Regions from separate parts of the Homo sapiens genome. Here all the other regions are linked to region 2. Evidence: promoter capture Hi-C in 16 types of primary human blood cells and fetal thymus (Javierre and others, 2016). All regions are on one chromosome and are shown on one strand. Each heading gives the region's core, a stretch centred on a gene start or on the middle of the fragment in contact. The rest is flanking DNA. Distances are from core to core; before and after follow the strand shown.

The links. Contacts are between HindIII fragments. The CHiCAGO score rates a contact against its expected background, and 5 or more counts as called.
Region 1: a fragment that was not itself captured here is called in contact with the fragment with the promoter of HYCC1 in region 2 in 1 of 17 cell types (neutrophils); the score reaches 9.1 in neutrophils.
Region 3: a contact is called between a fragment that was not itself captured here and the fragment with the promoter of HYCC1 in region 2, in 1 of 17 cell types (neutrophils). The highest score is 5.7, in neutrophils.
Region 4: a fragment that was not itself captured here is called in contact with the fragment with the promoter of HYCC1 in region 2 in 1 of 17 cell types (fetal thymus); the score reaches 5.9 in fetal thymus.

What each region holds. Positions count from the first base shown.
Region 1 is chr7:23,534,231-23,537,852 of GRCh38, reverse strand. No RefSeq gene overlaps it. Among named protein-coding and RNA genes, the nearest start is that of TRA2A, 4.1 kb to the right of the region's middle. The HindIII fragment of the contact is 4,760 bases long and covers 1-3,622 here.
Region 2 is chr7:23,012,486-23,015,935 of GRCh38, reverse strand. HYCC1 (hyccin PI4KA lipid kinase complex subunit 1) reads left to right here and starts at 1,806. Exons shown (of 11, transcript NM_032581.4): 1 at 1,806-2,011. RefSeq lists enhancers at 1,476-1,655, 1,816-2,005, 2,423-3,104 and a silencer at 2,196-2,465. The HindIII fragment of the contact is 9,152 bases long and covers 1-3,450 here.
Region 3 is chr7:23,597,683-23,600,952 of GRCh38, reverse strand. CCDC126 (coiled-coil domain containing 126) reads right to left here. Exons shown (of 4, transcript NM_138771.4): 2 at 2,902-2,986. Among named protein-coding and RNA genes, the nearest start is that of CCDC126, 1.9 kb to the right of the region's middle. RefSeq lists a silencer at 3,090-3,270. The HindIII fragment of the contact is 2,451 bases long and covers 315-2,765 here.
Region 4 is chr7:22,108,012-22,111,197 of GRCh38, reverse strand. No RefSeq gene overlaps it. Among named protein-coding and RNA genes, the nearest start is that of CDCA7L, 160 kb to the right of the region's middle. The HindIII fragment of the contact is 1,609 bases long and covers 835-2,443 here.

The DNA of each region.
Region 1 (3,622 bases), core at 1,077-3,576, 520 kb before region 2:
AGTTTTTGGGGAACAGGTGGTTTTTGGTTACTTGGATAAGTTCTTTAGTGGTGATTTCTGATATTTTTATGCATCCAATACCCGAGCAGTGTACACCGTACCCAATGTCCATCTCTCTCTCTGCATTGCATAAAGGTTTATGTCTTTATGTCATTGCATAAAGGTGCAAATGACTTTCTGTTTCTGAGTCTTTCTTTCTGCATATAAAATGAGGGAACTGGAGACACCTCCTATTTCTAATATTGCTCCTCATGCAGGATCCTCTCCTAAACTCCCAGTAAGACATGAATAAGGAGAGTTAGCCTCAAATACCCAAACACTCCTCACATGCCAAAAGTGAGAGATTGGGTTTTGGGAGAGGAAAGATACTTCACACACTCACATTTTCAATTTCTCCCAAGGAGCCAGGCACGGTTGCTCACACCTGTAATCCCAGCACTTTGGGAAGCCAAGGCAGGAGGATCACTTGAGCTCAGGAATTCAAGACCCAGCATGAGTAACATGGTGAGACCTCATCTCTGCTTAAAAAATTTTAAAAAAAAGCTGGGCATGGTGGCTCACACCTGTAATCCCAGCACTTTGGGAAGCCAAGGCAGGAGGATCACTTGAGCTCAGGAATTCAAGACCCGGCCTGAGTAACATGGTGAGACCTCATCTCTGCTTAAAAAATAAAAAAAAAAGTTGGGCATGGTGGCTCACGCCTGTAATCCCAGCACTTTGGGAGGCTGAGGTGGGCAGATCACCTGAGGTCAGGAGGTCGAGACCAGCCTGACCAACATAGAGAAACCCCGTTTCTACTAAAAGTACCAAAAAAATTAGCTGGGAGTTGTGGCGCATGCCTATAATTCCAGCTACTCAGGAGGCTGAGGCAGGAGAATTGCTTGAACCTGGGAGGTAGAGGTTGCAGTAAGCCGAGATCACCCCATTTCACTCCAGCCTGGGCAACAAGAGCAAAACTCCCTCTCAAAAAAAAAAAGAAAAAGAGAAAGAAAAAAAAATTAGGTGGGTGTGGTGGCACATGCCTGTAGTCTCAGCTACTCTGGAAGCTAAGGTGGGAGAATCAGCCTGGGCAACGGAGTGAGAACTTGTCTCGAAAATAAATAAAACAAAATAAAAAAGATTTTTAAAATGAATTGTGGCTATTAAGCAATGAGACTTACTTAAAAATATATAGGAAGGGGGACTTGCCCAATCAGACATAAAAATTTGAAAGCCTGGCTGGGCGTGGTGGCTCACGCCTGTAATCCCAGAACTTTGGGAGGCCGAGGTGGGTGGATCATGAAGTCAAGAGATCAAGACCAGCCTGACCAACATGGTGAAACCCTGTCTCTACTAAAAATACAAAAAATTAGCTGGGCATGGTGGTGAGTGCCTGTAGTCTCAGCTACTTGGGAGGCTAAGGCAGGAGGATCGCTTGAACCAGGGAGGCAGAGGTTGCAGTGAGTCAAGATTGTGCCACTGCACTCCAGCCTGCTGACAGAGCGAGACTCCATCTCAAACAATAAAAAAACAAACAAAAATTTGAAAGCCTCTATATTAAAACAGTGTGGCACTGGTGTATGACCAGGGAAACAGAAAACCCAGAAATAGACTCAACTCCGTAAGAAAATGTAGTGTATAACAAAGGTGACATCTAAAAAGCAAAGATGGGCTTTTTAATGCTGGGATCACTGGGTAGCCATTTGGAAAAGGTAAAATTAGATCTATAGTCCACATCATACATAAGAACAAATGCCAAATGGATCACGAATCTAAATGTAAAATATGAAGCTACATAACTACTAGAAGAAAACATAGTGAATTCCTCTTTAATCTCAGTATGGGAAAAGGCTAACTATGACTTAAAATCCAGGGGCAGCCGGGTGCACTGGCTCACACCTGTAATCCCAACACTTTGGGAGGCCGAGGCATGCGGATCACGAGGTCAGGAGTTTGAGACCAGCCTGACCAATACGGTGAAACCCCATCTCTACTAAAAATACAAAAATTAGCCGGACGTGGTGGTCCTCACCTGTAATCCCAGCTCAGGAGGCTGAGGCAGGAGAATCGCTTGAACCTGGAGGTGGAGGTTGCAGTGAGGCGAGATTGCGCCATTACACTCCAGCCTGGGCGACAGGGCAAGATTCCATTTCAAAAAAAAAAAAAAAATAGTGGCCAGGCACAGTGGCTCACGCCTGTAATCCCAGCACTTTGGGAGGCCAAGGTGGGTGGATCACCTGAAGTCAGGAGTTCAAGACCAGCCTGGCCAACATGGTGAAAACCCATCTCTACTAAAAAATACAAAAATTAGCTGGGTGTGGTGGTGCATGCCTGTAAGCCCAGCTACTTGGGAGGCGGAGGTTGCAGTGAGCCGAGAATGAGCCATTGCACTCCAGCCTGGGCAACAAGAGCAAAATTCAGTCTCAAAAAAAAAAAGTATGCTAATTTGGGAATCTTTTATTGCCATAGTAAAATTAATTAATTAAATTAAAAAATCAAAAAATAGTATGCAAAATATACCATAAGCAAAGTCAAATACAATTTACAAACTAGGAGAAAATATTTGCAACATAAAGCACAAATAAAAGGCTAATATTCCTAATATACAAGGAACTCATAAAACTTGAGGGACAAAGGATAAAAATCCAATAGAAAAATGGAAAATAGGCCGGGCACAGTGGCTCACACCTGTAATCCCAGCACTTTGGGAGGCCGAGGTGGGCGGATCACCTGAGGTCGGGAGTTCGAGACCAGCCGGACCAACCTGGAGAAACCCCGTCTCTACTAAAAATACAAAATTAGCCAGACGTGCTGGCGCATGCCTGTAATCCCAGCTACTCGAGAGGCTGAGGCAGGAGAATCGCTTTAACCCGGGAGGCGGAGGTTGCAGTGAGCTGAGATCGTGCCATTGCACTCCAGCCTGGGCAACAAGAGTGAAACTCCGTCTCGGAAAAAAAAAAAAAGAAAAATGGAAAATAGACAATTCCGAAAAAAGGACATTATATATATGTTTAAACATATCAAAAGTTTATAACTGAAATCTGGGACAATTCAAGCAACAAAATAAATAATGATAGCAATGGATTATAACTCATAAAGCAAATATCTCCTATCATCCCGGCACTTTGGGAGGCCGAGGTGGGTGGATCACTCGAGGCCAGGAGTTAGAGACTAGCCTGGCCAACATCAAAACCCCGTCTCTACAAAAAAATACAAAAATTAGCCGAGCACAGTGGCATGCACCTGTGGTCTCAGCTACTGGGGAGGCTAAGGCAGAATAATCTCTAGAGCCCGAGAGACAGAGGTTGCAGTGAGCCAAGACTGTGCCACTGTACTCCAGCCTGGGCACGGGAGTGAAACTCTGTCTCAAAAAAAAAGGCAAAGAAAAAAGAAACTACTCTTCTAGGCCCGGCCTGGTTCCTCAACACTTTGGGAGGCCTAGGCGGCAGGATCACTTGAGCCCAGGAGTTTGAGAGCAGCCTGGGCAACATGGCAAAACCTGGTCTCTACAATAATTTAAAAATTAGCTGGGCATGGTGTTGGGGGCCTGTAGTCCCAGCTATGTGAGAGGGTGTGGTGGGAGGATCGTTGGAGCCATGATTGTGCCACTGCACTCCAGCCTGGGTGACAGAGTCAGATTATG
Region 2 (3,450 bases), core at 557-3,056:
AAATACAAAAATTAGCTGGGTGTGGTGGTGAGTTCATGTAACCCCAGCTACTCAGGAGGCTGAGGCAGGAGAATTGCTTGAACCTGGGAAGTGGAAGTGCAGTGAGGTAAGATCCCACCACTGTACTCCAGCCTGGGTGACAGAGGGAGACTCTGCCAAAAAAAAAAAAAATTAAAAATTGAGTTTCAGCCGTGTATGGTAGTTCATGTCTGTAATCCCAGCACTTTGGGAGGCTGAGGTGGGAGGATCACTTAAGCACTCTACCCCAGTTTGGGTGACAGAGTGAGACCTTGTCTCAAAAATAAATAAATAAATAAATAAATACATTGAGCTCTTCAGTCACACCACATTTCAAGTATTTGATAGCCACATGTGGCTAATGGCTACTATTTTGGACAACACAAATATAGAACATTTTCACCAGTGCAGAAAGCTCTGCTGGACAGTGCTTGTCTGAATATCTTAGTGTAGCTTGTGAGGTCTTTTACAATCTCACCTCAACCTTTTGCTCCAGCCCAATTTTTGGCCGTTCCTCATCATTTAACCCCATCTACCTTCTCAACATTCCACAATGGCTCTGTGCCCTTTCACAGCTCCATGCCTTTGAACATGGTGTTCTCCCTTTCTGAAATACCCTTTGACTTTCTTCTCTGGCAAACTCCCATTTACCTTTTAAGATCCAACTCAAACATTACCTTCCTTGTGGAGTTCGCTGACTTTCCTAAACAGTCATTTCTTGTCCTCTGTTTCCATTGCTCATTGAACCAATCTCTATTGTCCTTATCACTGTAGTTTGTTATTATTTACTCATTAATCTGATCCTCCCTTTGGAGGGGGATCCTATCTGTTTTAGCAATCTGCCCTAATAATTACCTGAAATTGTTTGCTTGATACCCTTTTGATATCAAGTAATATATCTTCTTATTTATGTGCTTGTTATTTATGAGTTCAGCATGTTTGAAAAGTTCACTTAGTGTTTCTGGAGAAATCCTGCCCATTTCTAGTGTAAAGCTAGAATGAACTTCCTGTCTTCTAGGGTGGAGGTCAGTTTTTCTTCTAATTAATCCTGACCAGTCTTGAGAAGGATGTGGTAGGAGAGGTTTACAAGGTCAAAAACAGCAGTACTGTCTGCAGGCGCAGGTTCAGGTGTTCTCGGGTTCCAGTTATTATACAAAACATTTAGTATATGTTCAGAGAAAAAGTAGGGAGGAATGATGGAAAAAATAAAAACAACCCCCATGGAAAGAAAACTGAGGCATCGTATTTGACTTTTTCCAGGCTAAGCCCAAAAGCAATGATGTAGTGAGGGGGAAGTTTGTATTTCCATTTTGCAAAAACGTAATTTTTTTTTCCTCCCGGGATTTGATAAGATTTTGATAAATTCTTGTGAATTTAATTACAGGGAAGTAAATCCTACTGACTAGTAAATTATCAATTTGTTTCTCTTTTCTCACAAAAGAGAAACAAATTGATACCCTTCACATCATCCGGTAAGGTTTATTTTTTTCTGAGAAGGCCATAAGCCCTAACGGCTCAGAATCTAAGAGACCTTCGCTGATTGTCATCGCCTAGCGGCCACCGCAAACCTTACAGTCAATCAACTTCCCTCGGACGCCCGGATCACGCCCATTGCTCAGACCACGCCCACTCAAGGCGCCTCATGGCTCCGCCCCAGGCCCAGCAGAAGAAGATTCTCATTGGTGGAGAAGTTGTTCTGATCCCGCCCCGGAGGACGGCGATAGGCTGAACTGGCGTGGGGCGGTGGTGGTTGGCTGCTTGAGGACGGGTCCCTGGTCGTGCCTGTCAGAGAGGCTGGCGGCAGTGGTGGCTCTCCCGGCTGGGTTGTCAGTCAGTGAGAGGAGGGGGAAGATGGCTCACCGGGACCCGTTCTGCTAGGAAGAAGGGGAGCAGGTGGTGCTGCTACTCGGGAGGAAGCAGAGCAGCCTCCGTCGCTGTCGCTGAGAGCCTCACGAGTCGAGGTCCTGCAGGTGGAGCTCCGGCAGCCGCCCTGGTGAGTCCAGCCGAGAGACCCACGCCGGGCCCCCAGGGCGTCCGGCAACGGATAACTTTTTTTTGTCAGGGAGGAGCCGGGGCGAGGCGGCGGCGAGGACAGGACCGGGACTTTGTCCCTGGGGCCGCGGCTCCACTGGGGGTAACGGCTCCCGCGCGAGGCGCCATGGGTGGGTGCGAGGCGGCGCGGGGCGCTGGGGGCGGCTGGCGGGCGGGTGGGCTGCGGCCGGCGCTGCTCGCCCCGAAGTTGGGCGCAGCCTGCCCGCTGCCTGGAGGGCGGCAGCTTTGTGCGCGCGACTCGGGTCTTTCCTTCCCGGCGAGGAGCAGTCCAGCCTCCTGCTGTGACCCGGGTGCCGCCGCCTCGGCCCCACCGGCCGCCCCTCTGCCGGGTGGGCCTGGGGCGGGAGCCCCCCGTCCCCTCCCTGCCGCGGCGGATGCTCTGGCCTCTGCCTCCTCTCCCACTCGCGCCCTCTACTTCGGCGAGGCCGCCACTGTCCGTCCGGTCTGGTGGCCACAATGGTCACTGTCGACCCCCCGCCCTCGCCCCCTGGAGAGCAGCGTTGGCCCGAGTCGGTCTTTGGTCCCCTGCAGGGCGGAGAGGTTCAGACAGCAGCCACGCTTCCTTCCTTGGTTATTTCGCTGAAGATCTCTTCTTGAGCCCTTGCCCCTTCTTTCTATGAGTTATTCCTCTCCTGAGGCTCATTTTAACATACTCGGGAATCCTCGGGGGTTTGGCTGAAAATGGTTGCATTAAAACACCCCCAAGTTTGTACGCTTCCCCGAAATTTGCTGTCTGCCCGTCAGCTTGCACATGTGTGCTTTGTGAGTTTAGACATTCCTGAAAGATTTTAATTTTGCCTAAGTGGTTTAGTACTGCACAGAATCTGCTCTCTGAGAAATACACTATCACAAGCCTGGCAGCCGCGGCGCTCTTCAGGTAGGGGGAATTTGTTCCACCGGCAGCTACTTCTTATCTCAGAGACTGCCCTACAGGCAGTAGGGCCAAGCTGACCTTTTGCAAATTATTTATCCTTGGATCACACAGTAGTTTTTGGAGCAGGTGGGCCACCTCTTTGGTTCATGTAACACTTTACAGTTTGAGGTTTTCAGCTTTCAAATCTTATTGCCATAAAGTCAGAAAGACTGGGAGGCTTGTTTTCCATGAAAACATTCTACTGCTAACATCCACAGGCACCCCACCTCCCCCGACATTTCCAAGTATTTTTTTTTCTTTAGGTGAATACATTTTAAGGTTTACAGGATGAATAGTAGTCTAAACCACCATATTTTTGAAGTGCAGGCAAAGACAAGGAAGGAAAAACATTTAAGATCTGCTTGGCCAATAGTGGCTTCAAAGTCAGCTATTCAAATAATCAGTTCAATCAAACCAAGTGGCAAGGGGGAAAAGCATCACATATTTAGGAAACAAATTCTGGATTT
Region 3 (3,270 bases), core at 291-2,790, 590 kb before region 2:
AGGTGCACACAACCATACTCAGCCATCAATGGAGTCTTGCTATAAAAAGATCTCTTACTACGGATTGTAACAAAAAAGTTTAAAAAATACTGCATTTCACACTCCCTGTCATCTGTCATGAAGTACTTCCTTGTATTTTATGCAAACATAGCAACAGCAATATTAAAAACACAAATAGATGGCTAATCATACCTTAAAATCTCTCATTCAAATCTCATTTTTGCATCTATTCAGTGCTCTACATTTTGTGCCATTATAACTATAGCTAAAGTAACTATCAACAGCAATAGCAGCAACTAGCAGGCAGAGAAGCTTTCACTCAGCCAAAGGTACTAGAAGAACTACTGCCTATTAGTCTCCAAAGGAATTTCAGCTAGAGAGGCATAGATTTACTACAAAAAGACACAGTATGTTCACCACAGCTCAGAGGTTCAAATAGTTCTCTCCAAAAACGACCCAAAAAAAAGTCCTCCACAGACTTGACCCCGGAATGTAATTTCAGGGAAAAAGGGGCATTCCTAAAATATTTTCTCTATGTAACACTGCCTGAGGCTAATATGGTGGTGGGGGGGGGGGGGTTAACACAGAACACAGCCATTCGCTCCATAATAAGGTCTAAGATTTAAAATGCACTGCCTTGAGAGAAGCTACACTAAAATTCCAGCTAAGATACGGAAATAATGAGTGTCAAGATATCAGATCATTTTTAGATGGCACATTTGGGAGACAGAATAGAAGACAATAGCACTGAATATTACAAAAACAGATAAAAGAAAAATGGTAAAGTGAGGCAGGGATAAAAACAGAAAATGTTAAGGCAAAAAGAAAACTAACCATTATGCTACAGTAAAAGTTTAATTTAAAATATGGCCTGGCGTGGTGGCTCATGCCTGTGATCCCAGCACCTTGGGAGGCTGAAGAGGGCGGATCACTTGAGGTCAGGCATTCAAGACCAGTCTGGTCAACATGGTGAAACCCCATCTCTACTAAAAATACAAAAATTAGCCAGGCATGGTGGTGCATGCCTGTAAACCCAGTTACTTGGATGGCTGAGGTACAAGAATCGCTTGAACCTGGGAGGTAGAGGATGCAGTGTGCAGAGATCGCACCACTGCACTCCAAGCTGAGTGAAAGAGCAAGGCTGTCTCAAACTAAACTAACTAAACTAAAATATGCAATAAAATAAACTATGCAGGCCGGGCTCCAGGGCTCACACCTATAATCCCACCATTTGGGAAGCTGACATAGGCAGATCACTTGAGGTCAGAAGTTCAAGACCAGCCTGACCAACATGGTGAGACCCTGTCTCTACTAAAACTACAAAAATTAGCCAGGCATGAGGTACAAGAATTGCTTGAACCCAAAAGGTAGAAGTTGCAGTGAGCCAGCACCACTGCACTACAGCCTGGGTGACAGAGTAAGACTCTGTCTCAAAAAAAAAAAACAACAAAACCTATATATATACATATACATAGACACACACTATGCAGCACTAGATACTTCAATCACAGAGCTTCACCTGTCACAGCCGTGGCCAATCATGTTTTGTGCCACATGTCCCCACCTCCCCTTCCAAAGCCAACTAGGCTAGCATCTCTGGCCTCAAACAAAGAGGCCCCAGGGAAAACCAGGCAGTTGGCAGAAGGAGCTGAAGGAGAAGTCATGAAAATAAATAATAAAGTTGGATGAGGGGATTGACAAGCTAAAGTTATGAAGAATCAGGCACAACAGGTATAGGGGCTATGAGCAAAAGATACAGAGTAGGGAGAAAGAGAACAAAGCATGTCAAAAATGCAGAGAAACTGTGCAGCTCATGAGAGAGTGATAACTGGCTGGTAGAGATTCTTATTTCTGGCAGCTTTCTTGTTCTCTTAAATGTATTCCTTCTTTCAAGGTAGTTTGAAAGAATTATATGACCTGAAGCAGGAAGAAACACTAAGAACACAAATGACTAAAAGGGTTTACACAAATTTTGTTTCCACATTTAAAAAAAAACCTCTAAAAACCTTTATCATTGAAAGTCTGAGCTAGAAGAGTCCTTGGAATCAGACCAATTCACTATTTTAGAGATGAGGACATTGAGGACCACAAAGTAATCTCAGGTTACACAGATAGTGACAGAGCAAGGACAAAACTAAGGACTCCTATTTCCGTAGCCATTACTCTCTGTCCTACACTGCACTAAATAACACCAACATAGAAACATTTTCCTCAAAACAAGTATTTTTGCAACACATTTTAGAGTGAGAAATTATTAATCAGTGAGAAGATGCAGACAGATGTAGAAAAAAGTTGACCCAGGTTAAATATGGTGAAGCCCAGAGGCAGGACTGTAAAATACCTGGATGCCTACTCTGACGAAACAAACACTTAGCGCCTCTAAGGATTCCCAAAGGACACACCTGAGGGGGAGGGGAGAGGTGAATACTTGTACCTCTGAAGCTGATCCACAGAAAAGCAGAGTCATCAATTTCCTAAGAACATTCTCAGCCATCTTAAAACAGCAAAAATTAGGAAGACGGCATATTTTAATGAATCCTTTGGTTAGGTTTAAGATAAAGTGAAGAACACACAACCCAGGATGATTAAACAAACAAAAGCACAAAACTCAAGTCCAGAGGCCACTTCGGTCACTTCAGTCATAGCTAATGAAAGTATCACAAAGGATCTTTTCATCAAATGAAGAACTAATGACGTTATAGGTCTATATTCCTAATTCTAACCACTTACAGGTGTGTGTTTTGATGGATGAGAAAACTCAAGCTTAGAGCCTTTAAGTAACCAAGATCACCAAGGCAGGCAGTGAGAGAAACCCAGGCAGGATTCGAACCCTAGCTGGCTGAGCCATTCTCATTACCGTCACAGTCAACAATCAACACGGCAGTTTAAGTTCATCCTTACCAGTCACCCAGGAGATGAGTTTTGAAGAGGGAGTTTAAAAGGGGCATCTGACTTTCTCTCTCTCCCAAAGTAGAAGAGAACTGAGCTGTCAAAAACAGAAAAAGAAGTGAGTGCGGTGCCGCCCGGGATCTACATCCCGCAGCTCCGGACCAAGCCCGCCCCGCTCGACTCGCGCAGCCCCAGCCACGCTCGGCTCTCCGCCCGAGCCGAGGCGCCGCGGCTGTCAGACGCGGAGGGGCAGAGACGCGGCCCAAAGGAAGGGACAAAGAGCCTTCCCGGCCGCGGCCGGAGGCTGCCGGCCCGTTCCTAAGCCGGGTTTCCGCAGCAGCGGCCCTAGCGGGGCGGGGACCGGGGACGGGGGCGCGGCGG
Region 4 (3,186 bases), core at 390-2,889, 900 kb after region 2:
CACCAGTCAAAGCCATTCTATGAGCTGGGGTGTTGTGCTGGATGAATACTTGCTCAATAATGATGCTTCAAACCTCCAGGTCCAAGCTCCAAGCATTGTCAGCACAGCCATGTGGAGCAACTTCGATGCACAGAACCTCTTCAAGTCCAACCAAATAGACACCACCCACTTGGGCAACAAGCCATCTCAGAGGGCAACCACCTCATGGGGCTCTCGACACTCTTCCCCTAGCAACCATACTTCAACTTTGACTTCACGGTTTGTTTAGTGCTGCCTTCTCATTCGGGCCTTCCTTTCCAGAAGAAATGTAGAAATATGAATTACACTTCTGTCATTAGAGATTCCAGAGGCTTCAATTAGGCAAGCTGAAATAAAATCTGTCTAAAAGACACGTAGTAATAGGCCTTTGAAACAAGCTTCGAGGTGGTCCCAGACATTCAGTTCCAATTTCACATTGCATAGCCAGAAACAAACTTGTACCTCAATGGGAAAGAACTTTTCAGACAGTCCATTATTTTTTTATGTTACCTTCTTTTGTCATCAAAAAATGATCTGGATCTCTTCTCTCCTCCTCACTTAAGTAACTTTTCTTCATGTCCTGGGTCATGCCCCAGGAATTTTTATCTACAAAGTGCTCAGCCTGGTGCACAATGCACATTCGCTGCTTAATAAATATTTGTTGCCTGAGATGCGTGCTGCTGGCATGACCAAAATGTGAGACGTTAGCGACATCTGCTGGGGATATGGTGATGGTGTGCAGAATTTAAGTCAGAAATGCATGTTTTTGAAGGGCTGAGTTAAATCAAATGCCACAATGGGGCACTGTTGGAAGCTTATGTCTACAGTGATGAGGCCATGGCTTTGCAGCTCTTCCTTACCAGGATGTGGTCCAGTGGGTTATTGTTCTCCTACAATATAATGCAGCCTTGTTTTTTTAAAAATACAGAAATCAAGAAGATGGAAAAGGAGCTGAACTGGGGAAAGCTGAGGTTTGCACAGGTCTGTTGGCTCCTAAGAAAATGAAGAAAGTGAGGGCAGGGAAAGGATGGAGAAGCAGGTCTCCAGTCTTCCCCCACTCCGACCGCTGGCCCTCAGGAGAAAGTGCAAGTGCCCAAAAGCAACTTCCCAGCCACTGTCCTTCCCCAGCCTCACCTCTGGCTTCTGCTCCCTGTTCCTGCCCCACACCCCAGGGGACACATTCCTCAGGTCCACTCCAGCCCAGCTAAAACGTTCAGGCACTCACCTCCAGACCTTTGAGCTTATTTGTTCAACAGCCAAGTAGCGAGTGGGGACTTGGGAACACTAGGAGGCGCTGTGCTAAACATGGGTGTACATTCCAGAGCCAGTCCAGGGAGTGTGGTTCCGGAACGGGTGGAGCTTCTGGTGTAGTGGATGTGGACTTTCTGGCCTGGAGCTCCTCTCTCCTCCTCACATAAGTAACTCTTCTTCATGCCCCAGGTCTCAGCACCCCCAGGAAACCTGCACTGGCCCCTCTAGCCTACACCAGATTCCCCCCAACCAAGCACCCTCGTAACACCTGGGTTTACCCCTCTCCAACCAAGTCAGAGCCTCTGAACTAGTTGGCCTGCTCCTCACCTCCCAATACACTAGATGTCCCCTCAAGCACCGGTTGCCTTCTTTACATTTATGTATCAGTGTTGATCACAAAACCAGAACAAGGTAGGTACTTCTGTGGTCCTGGAAGAGCTATGGTAACTGTCATAGACCCAGGAAAGACGCCGTTTACTACGCAGAGGTGCTGCGGTGAGTGACAGGAGACTCAGCAGCATTGTCATATCACAGAGCAAACCCTGCCTGCTGGGCTTCCAGGCCATGTGAAGGTAGAGATAACCGATGACCTGCTTGATTGAATGTGGAGCCCATGGGGCTGGTAGGGGTGCCAGGGCTTCAGATCTCTTCCAGTGTTCTGGGGTCTGCCTGTCCCAGGAGCTGGCAGCAATTCCAACACATTCCTGAGCACTTATTGCTAAGGTGAATCCAAGTTCACGTTCCCAGAACGGGTTCCGAGTCAACCACGCCAGAGGTCTGCGCCAGCTGCACTTGGTCTAGGAGGCCTGGGACCACCGTCAGCCCATTCTTCCTTGAGGCTCCGGAACAGCGTGGGACATTAGCTGAGCTGTGCTCAGAAGCAACTCTCTCGCTGATTAGGGCTGCCGAGAGTCCCATCGTCTGCTCACCTGTCAATCAATCAAGCCTCTTCACTGCCATCCTGACCATCCTGTCAGGGCTGATCACCTTGGCTGCTCACAGAACCCATGAGGACTGAGAATTTCCCAGATCCTCACAATGACTGAGCAGCCCTGCTTCCCTGGACCTTTATAAGCATCTGGAACATGCCCAGGTGTGCCAGGTGTGGCCTCCATGGCCTGCCAGAGGAGGGGGCAGGGGGAGTGCAAAGACTGAATCAGACAAAGACTAAGCTTTGCTTCTGCCCCTTCTTCACCCTTTTTTCCCATGCAAGAGTCTCAAAGGCAGATCCAGAAGGAAAAGTCAGCAACATTCCACCATTCGATTCCTTTTCTTGGCCCCAGTGTGTGCCCTGGGGCCCTTTCGTTCTTTGGCCTGGGTAGAGTGTGTGGCCACACGCTGCTGAAAAGGTCAGGGTCAAGATGCTGGGAGCTGCCAGTGGCGCTAGAGGAACCCATGTTTTCCATTGTGGATTAAAATACCCATTTGCCTGCGGCTGAGCTTCCCCTCCGAATCCAATAGGTCAATAAGGACCAAGGACAAAGCACAAACAGGGCCTGGAAGCCAAGAGATGTCGATAAAAATGGAGATGAATAGGCATTTCAGTGCGGGCAGGCCGTGGGTGTGGGGCATTGTCTTTTCTCTGGCCGGCAGTGCCTGGCCACTTTGTCTCCAAACAGTGCTTCCATTTTAGAGATGCCAGATTGGTTTGGACCCAAAGCTTGACTGTTGCGGGGTGGGCTGAGGTGGGAGTGGGGAGGATTCACACAGAAAAAAAAAAAAAGGCATCCTTCTGGGTGCCAAACGTGGCAGTTCCTCCGTTTCTTTCCAGTACAAAGCCCTCCCGATGCGGAAAACACTCCTTTTTGACCGTGTTACTCTTCTTTCCTTTTAAGAAAATAAGTTCCCAATCTTTGGGTTTTTTAAACAGTGCAAATGCTGGCATTTCAGAGCTGCTTTAGTGTCTTCGGCTAGATG